Linked DNA regions of Homo sapiens: all the other regions are linked to region 4. The links are contacts of gene promoters, found by promoter capture Hi-C in human tissues and cell types (Jung and others, 2019). All regions are on one chromosome and are shown on one strand. The core of a region is centred on a gene start or on the middle of the fragment in contact, and the rest is flanking DNA. Distances in the headings are between cores, read along the strand shown.

Evidence for each region. The method cuts DNA at HindIII sites, captures the fragments that hold promoters and counts their contacts. A contact is called where the count stands out against the background at its distance.
Region 1: a fragment that was not itself captured here is called in contact with the fragment with the promoter of CHERP in region 4 in 1 of the 25 tissues and cell types used here (spleen).
Region 2: a contact is called between a fragment that was not itself captured here and the fragment with the promoter of CHERP in region 4, in 1 of the 25 tissues and cell types used here (dorsolateral prefrontal cortex).
Region 3: a fragment that was not itself captured here is called in contact with the fragment with the promoter of CHERP in region 4 in 1 of the 25 tissues and cell types used here (pancreas).

What each region holds. Positions count from the first base shown.
Region 1 is chr19:16,124,362-16,127,061 of GRCh38, reverse strand. It overlaps RAB8A (RAB8A, member RAS oncogene family), which reads right to left. Exons shown (of 8, transcript NM_005370.5): 4 at 1,515-1,592. It overlaps HSH2D-AS1 (HSH2D and RAB8A antisense RNA 1), which reads left to right. Exons shown (of 2, transcript NR_199156.1): 2 at 75-2,700. Among named protein-coding and RNA genes, the nearest start is that of RAB8A, 14 kb to the right of the region's middle. The HindIII fragment of the contact is 7,709 bases long and covers 1-2,700 here.
Region 2 is chr19:16,086,640-16,089,339 of GRCh38, reverse strand. TPM4 (tropomyosin 4) reads right to left here. Exons shown (of 8, transcript NM_003290.3): 4 at 1,243-1,313; 5 at 220-295. Among named protein-coding and RNA genes, the nearest start is that of TPM4, 11 kb to the right of the region's middle. The HindIII fragment of the contact is 7,259 bases long and covers 1-2,700 here.
Region 3 is chr19:16,060,675-16,063,374 of GRCh38, reverse strand. No RefSeq gene overlaps it. Among named protein-coding and RNA genes, the nearest start is that of LINC01855, 3.7 kb to the left of the region's middle. The HindIII fragment of the contact is 9,039 bases long and covers 1-2,700 here.
Region 4 is chr19:16,541,112-16,543,811 of GRCh38, reverse strand. CHERP (calcium homeostasis endoplasmic reticulum protein) reads left to right here and starts at 1,375. Exons shown (of 17, transcript NM_006387.6): 1 at 1,375-1,458; 2 at 1,769-1,942. The coding sequence starts at 1,434. RefSeq lists silencers at 1,474-1,663, 1,674-1,743. The HindIII fragment of the contact is 9,580 bases long and covers 1-2,700 here.

The DNA.
Region 1 (2,700 bases), core at 173-2,672, 420 kb after region 4:
CTCCTCTGCAAGAGGCCCCAGCTGTTGTCCTGGGACCTTCTGCTTTGACACTTTTTTTTTTGTTTTTTTTTGAGATGGAGTCTCGTTCTGTCTCCCAGGCTGGAGTGTAGTGGCATGATCTCGGCTCACTGCAACCTCTGCCTTCAGGTTCAAGCGATCCTCAACCTCCCGAATAGCTGAGATTACAGGCATCTGCCACCATACCAGGCTAATTTTTTGTATTTTTAGTAGAGACAGAGTTTCGCCATGTTGGCTAGGCTGGTCTCAAACTTCTGACCTCAGGTGATCTGCCCGCCTCAGCCTCCCAAACTGCTGGGATTACAGGCATAAGCCACCTCGCCTGGCCCTGACATTTCAACTATTTTTGGGCTCCAGAAACAGGCCGTGCCTGAGGTGGTCGCAACTCGAGGCCGTCACCAGCTGCAGGCACTTCACCACCCTGTCTGATGTTGCCCAAACTCTGCCCTCATACCCAAAGGCAGCTCCTTCGTCAAGTCTCCCTGGGTCCCCATGGAGCGGACCACGCTTCCTGGAGGACGGGGACACTGGAAACTGCTGTCTTCTTCCACCAGCTCAGACTTGGTCTCTGGAACCTACTGCGCCACTCCCTGCCTCACTTCCCATGAACCAGAAGGTGGCTCCTGCCCGCTGGCCAGAAACAGAGACCTTTCACAAAGACCAGGCTCTCCTCCTCTCCACGGATGAAGACAGCTTTCCCAGCTGGGGTGCAGCCCTGCACTGGCAAATTTGGCAGCACAGCCCTCTCAGGGTCACTGGGGAGGTGAGCCCAGTGCAATGACTCACAAATGATGGGGTGGCCTCTCGGCCTGGCCTGGGAGGTCCATGAGTCCTGGGTGGACAGTGATATGCCCTTTTGCTGTGGTTTTATAGATGGGAAAAGTTCTCTGGCTGTGCCTCAGACCTGAAGCCCCACATGGTTAGTTATAGAAAGCTGCAGGTGCCGGCAGCCAGGAAGGCTTTGGGGGTGAGGTCAGCTCTTTGGGGAGCAGAAGATGAAGATGCTGGCTTTGGGAGGGGAGGAGGGGTTGGCCTACTTCTCACTGCTCTATGGTTCAAGGTCTGAACACAGGTCGTTTGTACCAGGTCACACCCTGCTCCGATATAGCTCAAAGTACAACTGACGCCTGCTCACCACACCCTCCAACTACAAGGGTCACACCTGTGCTAGACCCTTCCTTCTCTAGAAAGCACCCAACACTCATGGTGACCACAAGCTTGGATATCCTTTCTCTTATAACCATGACACTGGCCAGATCCAACAGCCTAGCTGGAGGGATGGGCTCCGAGGGGCTCCGGGGTGGGGCCAGGCCAGTGTGTGGTCCCTGGGGCCGGCTGCTTGCATCTCAGTCCCTGCTCCCACCATGTCCCTGACTAGGAGGCTGTGGGCAAGTGGCCTGTATGTGTCTCTGCACCTTGGCCTTCTCATGAGTAAACCAGAGGGCTCTGGGACAAGGACTGAAGCAGGGACAGTGGGAGGAGCCGGAGGGCCTCACCTCCTCAATGTTGCGAATCCAGTTCCGGATGTTGTCGAAGGACTTCTCGTTGGTGATGTCGTAGACCAGCATGATGCCCTGCGCGGGGAGAGAAGACACAGGTGCCTGATCGGCTGCAGGCTCTGGAAGGGAGGCCTCAGCGGCACCAGAGAACAGTGGTGGGGAGCCCAGCACCCACTGCACAGCCAGGCCCATTAGCTGCCGCCCTCCCCACCTCTGTGGAGCCCCGGAAGCCAGCCCCCTCCTCTCCATCCCTGTGGCCCTTCTTTCTGCTGGGTTCTGGCACCAGCCTTGTCCTGCCCCCCGGGCCGCTGAGGTGACCCTTCTGCCTCACAGGCCAGCCCCTGCCACGCACTCGCTGACAAGCCCGGCTGGCTCCCCTCATGGCCCACGGGGTGGTGCAGCCTGACGGTGGGAGCCGGTCCACAGGCCCACTGCCAGCAGCACTCCCCTCACGCTGACCCTCCCCTGCAATCGGCCTCCTCTTCACCCCTTGCTCACCCCACGCTCTGCCTGAGCCACCTACCAGGCACAACTGAGCCCAGGAAGTCCTGACCCGACATCCACACAACTTCCAGTGACCCCACCACAGAGGGAACCGGCTGTGTGAAGATGGAGCCGAGAGTGCCAAGGCCCTTCCAGTTCCCTAACCTAGACGTGAGCAACTGGGAGACGGCTCGTGGGTCCTGGAAGAGCTTCGGGGCAGCCCCGCCTCAGCCTGGGTCCACAGCCTCGCTACTGCTGTGGACAAGCGCAAACATGCCCATGCGATGCAAGGGGAAACTGAGGCACAGAGACGTGACCTTTAAGATTCAAGCACGGGGGGCGGGGGGGGGCTAACTCCAAAAGCACTGATGACACCTATCCTCTCAGCAATATCCCTGGGCCTTTTTCAGCCCCAGAACCCACATGTGGGGGCCACCCTCTGACGGTCTGTGTGGTTCTCGATGTCCTTGTGGAGTGCCCACAGCGGGCCAGCCTGCAGTGCCATCACAAGTCCCCCTTTGTTGCCGGGCATCCTGGGCTCCAAGGCACGTGGCCTGCTCATGGCCAGGCCTGGATTTCTTCCTTCCTCCTCGCTACCTGCTCCCCAGGCCCAGCCCTGCATCTGTGGCACCTGAGGGCACTGATGACTTCTGCTGCTGGCCAAGTTGTCTGGGGCCATCCAAGTTTGCAGAATAAGGAC
Region 2 (2,700 bases), core at 135-2,634, 450 kb after region 4:
GGAGATCAAAGATGGTGCTCAGACCCCATGGAAGAGGACTCAAGAGTGTGCAGGAGAAATCCAGCTCTTTCTGTAGGGGAAAAACCCTGGCTGCCAGGCACCAACGCTACTGTTAAATAAAGGGCAGATTCCCCATAACCTGACAGGCTCCTGCATCCCTCGGGAGAAGAAAAGAACAAAGTCCAGCAAGCCACCCTCCAGCTCAAGCCAACCACCTACCTTTTCAGATGCAGCCTCCAGAGATTTCAGATTGTTAGTAACATTCTTGAGTTCTTCTTCCAGGTCACCACATTTTCTGCACAAAGACAAAGGATTTTTGTGTCTTATCTTCCCTTACAGCCGGCAATAATAGCAATCGCCCCAACAATAAATTTTCCAAAGGAGAAACCTACACAGCTCCCCCGGTGGGGGGCAGAAGGAATGTGGGGAGAAAATGTTAATGGATTTTTCTGCAGTGTGATACTATGGGCTTATCAAAGGCTTATCATACCAGGCAGAGGCGAGGTGCGCCCGAAGAGTATTTGGAGGGCTTGGAAAACACTCCTGGTCTTTTGCCAAGGGTAAGGCTGCAAGGACTTGTGAAATCTATGATTGATGAGGCCGACTCCGGAAGGTGTAAGAATGGGACTGAGGGCAGAAGGCGGGCAGAGAGCAATGGGAGTTTGCAGGGGACACTCCGGGAAGGAAGCCCGGAGTGGATTTGTGAAACCAGATCTCTCTCAGCACTCCCGGATGCTCTGTGGGGCTGAATTCCTCACCCGGGGCCAAGAGGACAGGTGTTTTGTTTTTCGGTGCTTGCTTGTGGGATTCTGGTTAAGCTTCTCACCTTCCCGCCAGGAATGTGTCACGGCCAAACACTGACAGGAGCAAAAGCATTTACATACTGACCGGGGGAGCCTGCCTTCTGGAGCAGGTCAGTGTTCTGTTAAGATGGCACAGCCCCCTGAGATATCCTCTCTGGGAAAATGGGACTTCTGGGCTTCCCTGCTGCCTCCTGTCTCACTCCTATTTCCTCATATCTTTGCAGAAAGGGTCAACACGTGGGCAGTGCTTCCCATGGCAGTAAGAACAAGTCACCACCTCTTTGTCACAGAAGCCAAGAGAAAAGATGAGCCATGAGCCCCTGACGCCCGTCCACTTGAGCAGAGACCCCGGTCAGAGCCAATTCCCAACACAGCCAGCTCCTTCCCACTCCGCCCCAGGAATCGAGCCAGCCTCGCTCAGTCCTGTTCTGCCACTCACAGTTCAGACACCTCCGCACGCTCCTCTGCCCTCTCCAGCTCACCCTCCAGGATGACCAGCTTACGAGCTACCTGCAGAGACAGAAAGGCCCAGCTGAGCCCGATCCCCACCAGCCGTGTCCTCTCCCATCCACTGCAGACAGCCCCCAATGATGCCCCACCCAGACCCCTAGACCAGCTGCAACATGGGTTTTTCTGGTGTTTCTTTTTTTTGCAGGGGGACGGAGTCTCCCTCTGTTGCCCAGGCTGGAGTGCAGTGGCACAGTCTCGGCTCACTGCAACCTCCACCTCCTGGGTTCAAGCGATTCTCCTGCCTCAGCCTTCCAAGTAGCTGGGACTACAGGCGCGTGCCACCACGCCCAGCTAATTTTTGTATTTTCAGTCGAGATGGGGTTTCACCGTAGTGGCCAGGCTGGTCTCGAATTCCTGACCTCCTGATCCACCTACCTCGGCCTCCCAGAGTGCTGGGATTATAGGCATGAGCCACCACACCTGGCCTCTTTTTTATTTTTTTATTCTTTTGAGACAGAGTCTCGCTCCATCACCCAGGCTGAAATGCAGTGGCTCAACCTTGACTCACTGCAACCTCTGCCTCCTGGGTTCAAGTGAATCTCCTGTCTCAGCCTTCCAAATAGCTGGGCTTACAGGCATGCACGACCATGCCCGGCTAATTTTTGTATTTTTTGTAGAGACAGGGTTTCACCACGTTGGCCAGGCTGGTCATGAACTCCTGACCTCAGGTGATCTGCCTGCCTTGGCCTCCCAAAGTGCTGGGATTACCGGCGTGAGCCACCATGCCCAGCCCTTTTATGTTTTTGACAGAGGGTCTTGCTCTGTCTCCAAGGCTGGAGTGCAGTGGCGTGGTCAGAGCTCACTGCAGCCTTGACTTCCCAGGTTCAAGCGATCCTCCTGCCTCAGCCTCCCAAGTAGCTGGGACTACAGGTGCATGCCACCACACCCAGCTAATTATTATTATTATTATTTTTAGAAATGGGGTCTCACTATGTTGCCCAGGCTGGTCTCAAACTCCTGGCCTCAGGTGATCCTCCCGCCTCGGTCGAAGTGCTGGGGTTACAGGTACGAGCCACCGCGCCTGGCCTTTTGCTGGCGCTTCAACTGAAAGAGCCATCCTGGGGCCTGGAGGAAATCCTGATTCTCTTCCTCAAGCCTGAGGAGCGAGGCAGACAAGAGGCGGGAGGGAAGAGCCGAGCCATCGAGGGAGGCAAAGGAGGGCCTGAGCTTGCATGGTCTGAAACTCCATGGCTTGGGACCACAATCCTCCATTTTTGCCCAACTGTGCCAAAACTCCCAGCTAACGACACAAGTGAGCTGATCATTCGGTTTTCCCATTACGTTAGACAAGCGTCCGCAGCACTTTCTGGCATCGTGGGAGATAGTTTCCTAGCCAAGTGGTTGTCTCTGGACAAACATATGTTCACGCAGGAGGACAGCTGACCTA
Region 3 (2,700 bases), core at 14-2,513, 480 kb after region 4:
TGGAGTGCAGTGGCACAATCGTGGCTCACTACAGCCTAGATCCCCCAGCTTCAATTGATCCTCCCACCTCAGCCCGCTGAGTAGCTAGGACTACGGGCATGTGCCACTATGCCTGGATACTTTTTTGTTTTTGTAGAGGTGGCGTCTTGCTATGTTGCCCAGGCTGGTCTTGAACTCCTGGGTTCAAGTGATCTTCCTGCCTTGGCCTCCCAAACTATTGGGATTACAGGCATGAGCCCCTGTGCCTGGCCTGCCGTGAGCTATTATTGCACCACTGCACTTCAGCCTGGGCATCAGATACCCCATCTCTTAAAAAATGCAAGGACAAATAGTTTATTTGGGAAGTGACCCAAGGAGATACAAGTAGAGGATGGGAAGTGAAATAGGGAAAAGAAAGTAACCATTAAGCATGCATTATGAAACCAGTTACTGCCATGGACAAATAGGGTGCAGTCCCACTGAGGGCCTCTGGAGGCAGCAGAGAGCATGCTCTTTGGAGTTGTCCCAGCTGAGGGGCGAAGGAGCTGGGGTATTTATCCACCAATTCCATGCTGCTGTTGATTGAAGGCTGCTCTTAGGGGCTGTTGATTGTGCTGATCTGCCCTTGTATGGGTCACACTCACTTCAGCAGCTGGAGGAAGACCGCCTCTCCCCCTAGCAGAGAGATGAAGCTGCTAGAAGTACCCCTTGGTGTGGAGAGAAACAGTAGGAACCCAGTGGATCTGGGCAGGCACCCAGAGTGTGAGCTAAATTTTTTTTTTTTTTTGAGATAGTCTTGCTCTGTCCTGCACTCCCAGGCTGGAGTGCAGTGGCACGATCTCGGCTCACTGCAACCTCCGCCTCCCAGGTTCAAGCAATTCTCGTGCCTCAGCCTCCCAAGTAGCTGGGATTACAGGCATGCACCACCACACCTGGCTACTTTTTGTATTTTTGCAAAGACAGGGTTTCACCATGTTGGCCAGGCTGGTCTCGAACTCCTGACCTCAGGTGGTCTGCCCACCTCGGCCTCCCAGAGTGCTGGGATTACAGGCATGAGTCACCACGCCCAGCCTAAAAATGTTAATGCATGCAAAATGCAGGCACCTGATTAGTCTTGGGTGGAAGTCAGGAAAAAGCCTCCCTGAGGAAGTGGCAATTGAGGGAGGCCTGAACGGTGGTGATGGGGTCTATGCGAAGGTCATAGGAGGAAGGGACTGAGGGCAGGTGAGAGTGTCTGCCGTTGAATGCAGAGGTGAGGATGTGGTGTGGTGTGGTGTGGTGGGTGGTGAGGCTGCAGAGATCAAACAACAGAAGAGAGGATGGGGACTGCCCCCAAATGTGTCTCCTGCAGTTTGAGACATGCAAAGAGACCAAGGCAACAGGTGAGTTTACTGAGTTCCAATAGAAAAGAGCAAAAATGTTCTCAGCTTGCACTCTATGGAGTTTCATTTCATGGGGTACAATAGAGTAATAAGATGACAAGGATGACAATAAAAATGACCCTGAAGCTGGGTGCAGTGGCTCACGCCTGTAGTCGCAGCACTTTGGGAGGCAAAGGTGGGAGAATTGCTTGAGCCCAGGAGTTCAAGATCATCCTGAGCAACAGAGCGATACCCCATCTCTACAAAAAATTTAAAAATTAGCTGGGTGTGGTGGCATGCATCTGTAGTCCCAGCTACTCCAGAGGCTGAGGCAGGAGGATCACTTGAGCCCAGGAGTTTGAGTCTGCAGTGAGCCATGCTGGTACCACTGCACTCCAGCCTGGGCAACAGAGTGAGACTCTATCTCTTAATAAAAAAAGAGTTTCTAGACCAGGTGTAGTGGCTCACACCTGTAATCCTGGTACTTTGAGAGGCCAAGGGGTTGGATCCCTTGAGGCTAGAAGTTCGAGACCAGCCTGGCCAACATGGTGACATCCCGTCCCTACTAAAAATACAAAAAAATTAGCCGGGCATAGGTGATGCACACCTGTAATCCCAGGTACTTGGGAAGCTGACAAGTATTGCTTGAACCCGGGAGGTAGAGGTTGCAATGAGCTGAGATTGCACCACTGCACTCCTGCCTGGGCTACAGAGCAAGATCCTGTTTAAAAAAAAAAAAAATTATCCGGGAAGGGGCAAACCATTGGTGGGGCGGGCAAGGAGAAAAGGGCTCTAAGTCCTCCCCAAAGTCTCTGAGCCACACTCCGAGGGAACTGTGTGGGTTAGAGAGCTTGGCCATTAATCCCGTAAAACAGGCATGACCACAAGCTTGGTGGCATCGTCACGATAATTAATAATAATTATAGTTAACACTGACATGTCTTTAATGTGTCCATGCTGTTCTACGTGCCTTGCACACATCAGCTCACTTAATTTTCACAATAACCTCGTGAGATAAGTGCTGCTGTCATTTCCATTTTATAAAAGGAGAAATTGAGGCACAGAGAGGTGAAGTAACTTGCTCAAGCCAGCACAGCTAAGAAGTGGTGGTGTTGGGAGTTGAACCAAGAGTGGCTGACTCCGGATTCTACACATTGACCCACAAACTATAACCTGAGCAGCCTCCCCTATTCAACCTCCTACCTGAGTTACCTTCATGGACAGCCACTGCCCATTAGGTGTCAATGGTGTCATTGGAGAACAATTCTCCACGGGTCTCTTGCATTTCTGTACACCCCAAAATCAGGGGCTCAGACAGCTTTTATTCCAGCTATCTTTTCAAGGATGTTTGTATAGCAAA
Region 4 (2,700 bases), core at 126-2,625:
GGAGAATTGCTTGAGCACGGGAGGCAGAGGTTGCAGTGAACCGAGATCACACCACTGCACTCCAGCTTGGGCGAGAGAGAGCAAGACTGTGTCTCAAAAAAAAAAAAAAACCAAACAATTAAGATCCTCGATCTTCATGAGAAAATATGAACTAGAGGACATTTAGAAAAAAAAAAATCCTTGATCTTGCCTCCTGACCTGCAGAGTCTAAAATATTTGCTTTCTGTCCCTTTTATACAAAAAGTTTTGTTGATTCCTAGCCTACAGCAACACTTGATGTAGAGTTGTCAATCCATAAGCATCTGGTGGAAAAATGCTGTTAACAATAAAAATGAAACTAATCTAAAATACATGTGCATTTATTTGCACAGAAAAAAACAGGCTGGGTAAAGTAGCTCATGCCTATAATCCTAGCACTTTGGGAGGCCGAGGCGGGAGGATTACTTGAGCACAGGAGTTCAGGGCTAGTGAGCTATGATCATGACACTGCACTCCAGCGTGGGCCACAGAGCAAGACCTTGTCTCAAGAAAAAAGAAAAAAAAAAACGGATAAAGGAAAAAAAAGCGGCGGGGGCGGGGGGCAGGTATAGCCAACTAAGCATTAACCATCTCAAGAGGATCAGTTTATATCGGACGTCCACAGCAGAAATTTGCTGCTTCTGGCTATCTTTTCCCCACAATTAGCAAGGGTTAGCTTCATTATTTTAGAGGCAACCCAACTGCAGCTTTTAGAAAGGCGCTGTGCCCTCTAGGCCAGCAATTTGAGGGCATGGGTTGGGGGGTACCCCGCCCCAGTCTTCCTGACCAAAGAGTGGAGCGGAAGAAAGCCAGGAGGAGGATGTTTTGAACCTAAATACGTCCAGCTGCAATCCCAGTCAAGCTCGTCGCCCCCAGTTCTGCTCCACCTCCGGTCTGGCCGGGGAGAATGTGACAGTCGCCGCAGCCCGGGATCCACCCGGACGCACCTCACCTCGCAGTCTCCTCACTGTGCCCGCGAAAGGAAAGAGACCCTGGCCCAGGCACGAAGTCCCCAGGCCCCTGGTCGCCCGGAGGTAGCAACCAGCCAGCCCATCGGGCTGCGACGCCGACCAAGGGGCACGCCCCGCGCCCCCCGGTCTCGACTAACACCCACCCGCGCCGTTCCAGCCTTTCCGCGGCGCCGCGCGACGGGGACCCACTCTGCGAAAGTGTCAGGAAACTTCTGCGCGTGCGCGTCGCTAGCCCCTCCCGCGCGCCAGGCATCGCGCGGCTTCTTCCCGCCTGCCTCCCGCTCTCACTTCCGGAGTTTCCCAGCGACGGCCGTAAGTGGCGGGCGGAAGCGGCCCTAGAAGCCCGCCGTAAACGGCTCCCTCGCGCCACTTCCGGCCGGCTTCCGCAGACGGCGCTGGTGGTCGATCGTGTGGCGCCGGAGGACGTTCCCCGCGGCCGGAGCCATGGAGATGCCGCTGCCCCCCGATGGTGAGACCCAAACCGGCCGAGAGACCGTTTCTCTCTCCCCGGAACCTCCTATTGGCCGGCCCCGCCTCCCGGAGTCCCCGGGTCTGGGAGGGGGCGGGGCTCGGCCTCGCGGCTTCGCCTGCGGCCTCTCCCGTGGGTCCCCGCATTCCCGGCGAGCGTGTGGCCCCTATCGGGACCCGTACAAGGGCGGCCTCTTCGGGGCCCACCCCCTTGGGGTCCCCGGCAAGGCGGACGGGGGCTGGGGCGCCGAGTCCCCCGGCTTTGGGCGGTCCTCGCTGACGCCCCGCGTGGCCTTTTCTCCGTCCTCCAGACCAGGAGCTTCGAAATGTCATCGACAAGCTCGCCCAGTTCGTGGCTCGCAATGGGCCCGAGTTTGAGAAGATGACTATGGAGAAGCAGAAGGACAACCCCAAATTCTCGTTTCTTTTCGGAGGCGAATTCTACAGTTACTACAAGTGCAAGCTGGCGCTGGAGCAGCAGCAGCGTGAGTCCCCTCCGGCACTCAGGCCGTCCCATCGAGCGCTTCCTTTCTCGGATTCCAGTCCGGGCTCTGCCACAAACCTCTTTCTTTCGGGTCGTTTATTCTTTGAAGTGGAGCAGCTCGGTCCACACGATCCCTGTTCCGCTGTTCCCACGGCCCTGCACAGAGCGGCTGCTGGGTGCCACTGTAATGGAGAACAACGAGGTTTTCGATCCTCCCCCCTGGGCTCTGGATCAGGGATTTTGCTGTTGTTTTGCAGACTGATGACGGAGATTAGCAGGAGTAGCGTGATTGTTTTAGTGTTTTCTAGGGAGGAAGTGATAGAGGCCGGATGGGAGTCCATGGGACAGGCACTGTCCAGCCCCCTTTGCCGTCTCCCTGTGGGTCCAGCAAGGTTTTGTGCATTTCAGATGCCTGCAGCAGAAATCAAAAAGAATTATCCCTCTGAGTTTTAGTTATTGGCAAGTGTTTATCAATGTTCGTTCATTTAGGCAACAGGATTCCAGTCCTGCTCTAAAGAAGTTTAAAGTTAGGAAGCAGAGCTGGCCTTTGAATAATGGATAGTCACCAGGTGGTGCGGCTGCTCAGGGCAGGTATCACATCTGTCACGTTCAGTACCCAACCCCGTCTCTAGATTGTTTAAATGAATAACTAGGAGTTTGCCAGGTAGATGGACATTGAGAGGTGGTTGTCCGCTGTTTGATCGAACGCCAATTGTGTGTTATGTATTAAGGTACAATGACCCAAACAAGGTCTGTTTG